Linked DNA regions of Homo sapiens: region 2 is linked to region 1. Evidence: promoter capture Hi-C in human tissues and cell types (Jung and others, 2019). All regions are on one chromosome and are shown on one strand. Each heading gives the region's core, a stretch centred on a gene start or on the middle of the fragment in contact. The rest is flanking DNA. Distances are from core to core; before and after follow the strand shown.

Region 1 (4,322 bases), core at 1,270-3,769:
TAAACAGATTCATTTTTTTCCAGTCAATATGAACTATCTTAGAAATATAAGACAAAATAACAGTGTCTGAAAGCCAGGTCTTCCGGGAGTAAAGGAAAGATCATTCCAAATTAGCCATATTCTAGATAAAAATCTGCAAGAAGTGGCTCAAGAACAGAAGTCTTTTGAGACAAGAGGTTCAAGTGTATTTGAAACAAGACTTTAAGATATATATACAGAAAATACCACTATTAGGTCCTCTGACCTTGCCATGTCAGAAATCATATTGGTAAAGCCTACAATCACTCTATTCTGTTACACTTAATCACAACATATTCAACAGGTGATCACAGCCAAATCTATTCTTAACTGTGACCACAGAGAGTATGACCATAACATCAAGCCAAACCCTATAGCCTAATTAACTAGAGTGCTACCTATGTATGATGTTTGGGAGTGCCAGGGCCACATGGTCAGATCGGATCACTTTAGAATCATATACCTCTGTGTGTGCGATGCAGAGCAGATGAAGGAAAACAAGAATATGTACAGATGATGCTGAAGGTGATGGTATGTGAAAAAGTGAAACTTGGGTCTAGTGGGGTACTAGAATTGTCAAAACCCCATCCAACTCTGTCACATATAACATCTGATGTTTCAGGGTAGCACCATCACAAAGTTCAGAACTTCTATACTCTCCTTGCAGGAAGCAGGAGAATGGGTCCAAAGCAATCACTTAGAACTTCATGGATATTTGGAAATTTACCCTTCCCTAAGTGTGGCTCTAGGTTTCAAATAGAAGCAGCAAAGAATTAACAAAGTCTTACAGATTTTGGTAGGCTTTGAAAAACTTGTTTTACTTGAGGCTCCATATGCTTCATGGCTTGCAAAACGTAACGGCCTAAAACCAAAAGCAACAGAATAAGTAAACTAAATCTCCAATCTCCCCGACTTCACTTCCATCCCCAAACCATAAACAAACCTGCAAATCCTGCAGCAGCAATGGTCAGTCCAACTGCTACCACTGTACTGGCCTGGTAAGGGGGAGAAGAGTAAATATTTACTTCTCTAATTCCCACCCTTTCTCATTTTGCCCATTCTTCCATCCCCAACTCATTACAAACTGCATTTTAATAGGAGAAACAACTTTTTTTTTTCTTTTTTTTTTTTTTTTTTTAAGAGACGGAGTCTTGCTATGTTGCTTAGGCTGGTCTTGAACTCCTGGCCTCAAGCAATCCTCCCACCTTGGCCTCCCAAAGTGCTAAGATTATAGGCATAAGCCACCATGCCTGGCAGAGAAACAACTTTTAAGGCGGAAATATTCTGTCCAGTAATCTTTAAAACTACTGCATCTGTTATGCTGAATGCATTAAAGTTACAGGATTCATCATATGGGAAAGAGGGCAAGTTCGACTTGCTTATTTATCTTTACAATAGTGAAAAAGATGATTCCCTCCCTTTGAAAACTTCTTTCATCACCAGACAAATTAAGTCACATTAAAGTTCAATCAAAAGTAGTGGAAATAGGCCAGGCGCGGTGGCTCACGCCTGTAATTCCAGCATTTTGGGAGGCGAGGCGGGCGTATCACTAGGTCGGGAGATCGAGACCATCCTGGCTACCATGGTGAAACCCCGTCTCTACTAAAAATACAAAAAAAAAAAAAATTAGCTGGGCGTGGTGGTGGGCGCCTGTAATCCCAGCTACTTGGGAGGCTGAGGCAGGAGAATGGCGAACCCGGGAGGCGGAGCTTGTAGTGAGCCAAGATTGTGCCACTGCACTCCAGCCTAGGCGACCGAGCAAGACTCTGTCTCAAAAAAAAAAAAAAAAATGTGGAAATAAGGTTTCTGCTACAGAAGGAAAAACTGTTTACAGACGGCTCCTGTAAAATTCTAACAACGCATTTTCGAGGCTAAACGTGGGCTAAACTAGGAGACTAATACCTTTGGCACTGCCCTGTTGTTTCCTAACAAGACAGGCCCAAATATGTTCAGGAAGCATGGAGAAGACATCTGTCAGCAAAAGCCAAAGAGAAGGACATAGCAAAGTGGAGCTAGTGCTGTGAAGATGTGTTAGGGCAAGGGCACTTATAATCAAATACGTTTCCACTAATCTCCGAGTCCATGACAGCCTCTGACCTTACAGGAGTTCCAGGCAAGCAACACCTGCAGAGCCCGTGCGGACAAGAAGCTGGAGAACCGTGCAGAAAGACGATGTAAAAACACAAACCCCCAAGAGAGCGAGCCAACAGGGTTGTGTCCTGGTGAGTGTGACTCCCCAATAACCGAAACCTCCCGCCCGCAGTCGCACTAAGGAGCACAACTTCAACTCCACACCTCCGAGGCGGGGAGCTGAGGTTGAGGCCTGGGCCGGAGGTCGCCAAGAAGACCGGAAGGCCGCACTCACCATGGCTCCGGCTGGGCTCCCTTGCTTCCACCGGGAGCACGGCTCATCCCAGCTCAGAGGCCGCGGCCAACACCTGCACGCCTTTACCAGAGAGCGACGCAACCCCCAACCTCAAGCACAGGCGCCCTACGCAACACGGCAGGAGCAGCCGCAAACTAGGCCGGAAAACTGTCGTAAAAGGGGACGCGGAGGAGAAGGAAAGTCGCTCAAGCAGTGGACAGAGCGGAGAAAGCGACTTCGGGTTGGTTGAAGGGTGGGCGGATCTCTTTATTTCTGGGTGTAGGGGTGGGGCTTCTCTGTGTTTTCTGTCCTTTGCTCCTGGGCGGTGGGTATTTGGAAATTCTTGCAGGGAAGGGCATGGGCAGCCTTACTCAGACCGATTTTTTCCCCCTACATCTTAGCACCTCGTTTTGCCTTTATTTTATGTTAATAATTGTCAAGGGTAATGAATGTAGTTAAACATGCTGTGACATTTCCACCACGAACCCAAACAAATATGTTGTAACCCAGTGTAGGAAACGAGATGCCCAGAAAAACAAATGAAACCAACCACACTGTGTTTCAGGGATTGCTCGGTAGCATTTTTTAATGTAAAAGAACTTCATTTAAGGATGTGACTTGACAAGACTTTGTGAATATTTGGGTTTTCGTTTTGTAGAATGGGATTAAAGACAGTTCATATTCTGAACATGGAATGTCAAGATCCTACAACTGAAAAGGGCTATTTAAAAGTTTTCCTCCTCACCCAAAATAAAAAGTAGGGCTGGATTTTGCCCTTACGTGGACATCAGTTTCATACATCCCTACATAAATGCTTGAGAAGAAAAAAATAATGGAGACAATAATGGAATTTTACAATGCAACGTTTGCATGATCAAAATAAGTTTGGAGTTACTTCCCACTCAGAATTTACAGTGTTAAATATCCGTTTACATTGCAATGCAATTCTGCTTTGATGAGTTTGTTAGTTATTAAACAAATATGCAAAATTTTTGGGTTTGTTTTCCTCATCTGTAAAAGCAGTTTGCATTTGATAATCCAAGAGCTCTTCTAGCGCTAAGGTTTTTGTGATGTAATTTATTGTCAACACATGATTTAAGGTGACATCCAGCACTAAGACACTAGCATTAAGTTTATAACTTCCTCTTTTGCCTCTCTTTTATCTGGTTTTTACCCAACAATTACAAAATAAATAATCAAGTGAGGCATAAGACCTTGGGACCAAATTGGCATCAACAAGCTAGAATGCTATCTGGAAAAATTTATTATGCATATTTTTGGTATGTACAAACTGTGTAATGCAGTTTCTGGAGGAATAGATTTACAGTAGACTCTAATTAGCTTTGAGACTTTACAAAACCCAGACTCAGGAAATTGGGAGTAGCAACACAGCAAGACATTTTGTTGAGCTGGAGATAGCTCTTTTTTTGGTGGCAGATCAAACTGGAGGTAACCTGGCTCTGTCACTTACTAATACTGTGACTTGGAAAAGTTATTTCTGATTGAGTTTCTTCCTCATTTGTAAAATGAAGGTAATGATAACTACCTTGCCGAGTTTTTGTGAACGTAGAGATTATGCACATATTGTGTTCTGCTTATGGTCATCACTCAGTGTGGGGCTATTATTATGAGGGAAGCCAGAGTGCAAATTGGAGTGTAGAAGCCTTCCTCATTCTCATGATACCTCACTCATGAATCTTAAGTCTGGTTGCCTCTTACCTACCTGCCAAGATCCTAGAAACAGCCTTGAAAAGTAATCTTTTTAAATGTCCACTGACTGATGAATGGATAATCATTCCTCATTTCTTCTAGCTTCTGGTGACTGCCAGCATTCCTTGACTTGTGACTGAATCACTGCAGTCTTGTAAGCCAGCATCTTGAAATCTCACTCTGCTCCAACTTTTCCATCTTCACATTGTCCTTCTCTTCTGTTTGTAAA
Region 2 (4,322 bases), core at 1,357-3,856, 180 kb after region 1:
ATGGTTTTAATTAACGTGGCAAGTGTTTGTAATTTCTGTTTCTAAAATGGTTAAAATTTTTATTATCTCGTAGATTAAACACATCCGTATCAGTTTTATTTACATTATTTCCTTGGTAAGACCCTTTTAAAACTAGATAAAACAAATGTTATCTCACGTTCAAGTTACTTCTATTTGTTATTAATGGAGTACCAATAGCAAAGCTTTACATTTTTATAACATCTCAGTCAATATTTAAATGTGTTCAAGGTATGCAACATGAAATAAATTTACTTATGAACTGAAGCATGAACAGACTGCAAAGCATCTGTAATCTTGCTTATTGCTCTGTGTTATTATCCTGAGTAAGCATTTGTGATTTAACATCCATCCATGACACTCTGGCAATCTTACTTGTTATCTCGCAAGCAGGCCCTTCACAGTTTTTGACAGACATCTAGATAAACTATGAAACAATATTTGTGAATCTGACCTTAGGAAAATGAAGCTACTTCTCTTCTTCAATGATGGAACTCTGCAGCCTTTGTGTTCTCCCATCTGAAACAAAATATCTATGGACCTAGGATTTCAAAACCAAGGGTGTATTCAGGGTTGACTTGGGGGTGGCCAGTCCCACAAAGCTTTTCTCTTTTTCACCAGAAAAGACTCTTAACTTCCTCTCAGGCTAAAGCAGGTTTAGATTTGAAGGTCATAAAGGCTTAGCTGATAGTTTATTATTATTATTTCTACCTTTATACAGCTTCTATTCTGGTAAAGGAGATAGATGCCAAATAATAAACATAATATACAAGTAAAGTATATATAATAGTTTAATAAATTTTATAGAGAAAAGCAATGAAGAAAGATACTCCTTTGTAGGGAGTGGGGAGTGGGATATTCCATTTTTATTTCCAAATTAAAATAAGTAATTAGATTTTCAATGTTATTTTGTCATATTAAAAATTGCAATCAACTGCACAGCTACAATCATAACTACTGTTCCTGAGTGTCTACAGTATGGCAGATGTGGGCTAGATATTATATTTATTTATCATACTAATACAAATATAGCACACTTACTATGCTACAAATAATATGTTAAGCACTTTATGCAATGTTACCTCGCCTATCTTACCACACAGAAAGTGAAATAGAATATCCCTATTTTTCAGAGGAAAAAGTTAAGACTCTGTGAGGTTAGGAAAGTTGTCCAAGGTGACACAGTCCTTAGGGACAAAATAGGAAATCATAATTGAAGTCAGTCTGGCTTTGAAGCTCACAGCTGTTTCCTAGAACCTGTATCACCGTCAAAAGTGTGATTCTATCCTTTGTTTCTCCTGCCTCAACACCAGGAGCTATTTGTCTTTTTCTGAACGTATTTTATTAATGCTATCATTTATTCTTTTTTTTTTTTTTTTTTTTTTGAGACAGAGTTTCACTCTTGTAGCCCAGGCTGGAGTGCAATGGCACAATCTTGGCTCACTGCAACCTCTGCCTCCTGGGTTCAAGCGATTCTCCTGCCTCAGCCTCCTGAGTAGTTGGGATTACAGGCGCCCGCCATGACATCCGGCTAATTTTTTGTATTTTTTTAGTAGAGACGGGATTTCACCATGTTGGCCAGGTTGGTCTTGAACTCCTGACCTCAGGTGATCCACCCACCTCGGCCTCCCAAAGTGCTGGGATTACAGGTGTGAGCCACTGCGCCCAGCCTCATTTATTATTTCATTCAACAAAAATGCATTGTGCTGAGTTGATTTTCAAAGATGGAGAAGTTATAGGCCCTTCCATGAAGGATCCTGTGGTCTGATGGGGAAATAGACATACAAAAATTTACTTTTGTAAAATCCAATTCATTTTATAATAGAGGTATGAATGCCATGGCAAAGCTCTGAAGCCCTTCTGATGTAATCTCTGAATTTAGAGAAGTCAAATGCCTCAAGCTTTTTGTGGTTGTTACCTTCACTCAGAAATGCATTTTAGATCATGACCAATATGCATGCACACACACATACAAGTGCAGCAAAATTGTTATTAAAAACGCTTATGCCTAGTACAGACATTGTATTCTGATATTTTCAAGTTTTTATTCTTCTCTTGAAAGAAAACCTGCCTCGGCCTCCCAAAGTGCTGGGATTACAGGTGTGAGCCACCAAATCTGTTCACATACCAATCTGTCTCTCTTCCAAGGCCTGTGGATACATACAGTGCCATTCTGCAAATTAACAAATGATGTCCCCTCTGGACAGACGAATTACAAAATGACATCCCTTCCTCCCACCTGTTGAAGTCCAGCCCCAGGGCATGCAACTCAGTCAGCATAACTCCTGACTGAAGTTTACCCCCATTTGCCCCTCTGGTATCTGGGTGAAGTGTACAAATTGCACAGCTGACTGCATATAGCAGCCCTTCCCTTTTTTCCCTCCCTTGCTGCCTCTCCCCTTCATTTCTCTCTTTATCCTCTCCCTTTCCCTCCCCTCCCATTTTTTCTCCTCTCCTTTTTTCCCTTTTCTTTAATTCTGTTATACTGGATGATAATAAAATAAAATAATTGAGGAGTTTAGGAAACAAGATTTTTATATTCCTTTTTGGAATTGTAGTAAAATATACAAAACATAAAATTTACCATTTTAACAATTTTTAAGTATACAACTTGTGGCATGAAGTACATTCACATTGTTGTGCAATCACCACTACCATCCATCTGCAGAGCTTTTTCATCTTTCCTAAATGAAACTCTGTTCCTATAAAACACTACCCCTTCATTCCCTCCTCCAAGTCCCCAGAAGCCACCATTCTACTTTCCGTCTTTATGAATTTGACTGCTCTAGGTACCTCGTATAAGTGGACTCATACCATAGTTGTCCTTTTGTGAGTAGCTTATTTTACTTAGAATAATATCTCCGAGGTTCATGCATGTTGTAGGGTGTGTCAGAATTTCCTTACTTTTTAATGCTAATATTCCCTTCTATGTATATACCAAATTTTGCTTATCCATTCATCCATTGGTGGACTTTTGGGTTGCTTCTACCTTTTAGCTATTGTGAATAGTGCTGTTATGAACACTGGTGTACAGATATTTGTTTGAATCCCTGCTTTCAGTTCTTTTGGGCATATACACAGAAGTGCAATTGCTGAATCATATGGTACTTTCATGTTCTTGACCTTTGCTTTTTATGAATTGAAGTTTCTTGAAAAGTCTAGCTTTGATACGTTTTCCTTCAACAAAGACATAATACACATGTAATTCCTGTACTGAGTAATCCAAATTGAGTTCACTCTTCTCCACCTTTAACTTTGCCCTGTTGCATTCCTGACTGTTAATGATACCTTGGAAGATTCCATAACTTCCCAGACACTTAGTTACTAAAGACTAGTACAGTCTAATTAAAACACTCTAGGCTCTCCTCCTCTCCACTGTTTCCCTGAACCCTGGATCAGGTTTGACTGAGGAACAAGGAGGGGTGGGAGGATAGGGTCTGCTCTCCCATCAACCTCCCTTCCTGCCCCCAGGTTCTAGCTCCCCTGTGGGTAGGAAGAAAGGAAGGGACAAGTGCTTACTTATTACCCCCTTTTAAAAGAATTCACATAGAGAGTCCCTTTGTTAGATGCAACCTAGTCTCTCTATTTAGACACTCCTGCAATTGATTAGATCACTACTTGGACCTTGTTACTGAGATTTCTTATGATTTGTCCGTTTTGTCTGTTGCTCCTAATTGATTGGACTGAAGCTGTTGGTTTTGCACACAGCCTGTATAAGTTGATTTTTACATTTATCTTTTCAGAAGGCTAACTCTTGGTTTCATTGATTTCTCTAACCTGGACATATTGGCATATACATATCTTTCCAAGTTCATTCCTGAGTCATTTTTCTGAATTCTCCATTGTCAAAATGCCTTTGGTAACCCATATGCTGATAGCTTCTTAGGTCAGGAAATTTTGTGAATCCAATATATTTGGATTTTCCTTCTTTAAATTTTAGAATTTAAGCTTACTTCCCAGTTCTGGAAGTACAGCTCATTTCCAGATCTTAGTGCTGAGCACCAGAGTGAATTTTGGCATAGATTCTGACTTTATGCTACACTGTATGCTACACATACAGTGCTATCAAATAGAGGTAGGCCAGGTTACAGGGAAACCAAACAGCATACAGTGCTATGAAATGGTGCACCTACTGCAACTCCTTCTTCATGAACTGTTATAAGAGTAAGAGTTTAAACAATTATTTAGGCCAGGTGCGGTGGCTCACACCTATAATTCCAGCACTTTGGGAGGCTGAGGTGGGTGGATCATCTGAGCTCAGGAGTTCGAGACCAGCCTGACCAACATGGAGAAACCCCGTCTCT

Evidence for each region. Contacts are between HindIII fragments. The study calls those that stand out against the background at their distance.
Region 2: a fragment that was not itself captured here is called in contact with the fragment with the promoter of DNAJC19 in region 1 in 1 of the 25 tissues and cell types used here (hippocampus).

Annotation. Positions count from the first base shown.
Region 1 is chr3:180,987,217-180,991,538 of GRCh38, forward strand. DNAJC19 (DnaJ heat shock protein family (Hsp40) member C19) reads right to left here and starts at 2,520. Exons shown (of 6, transcript NM_145261.4): 1 at 2,384-2,520; 2 at 962-1,013; 3 at 807-880. The coding sequence starts at 2,386. The HindIII fragment of the contact is 9,710 bases long and covers 1-4,322 here.
Region 2 is chr3:181,167,856-181,172,177 of GRCh38, forward strand. The region is part of intron 2 of SOX2-OT (SOX2 overlapping transcript); the gene reads left to right. Among named protein-coding and RNA genes, the nearest start is that of SOX2-OT, 110 kb to the left of the region's middle. The HindIII fragment of the contact is 4,390 bases long and covers 412-4,322 here.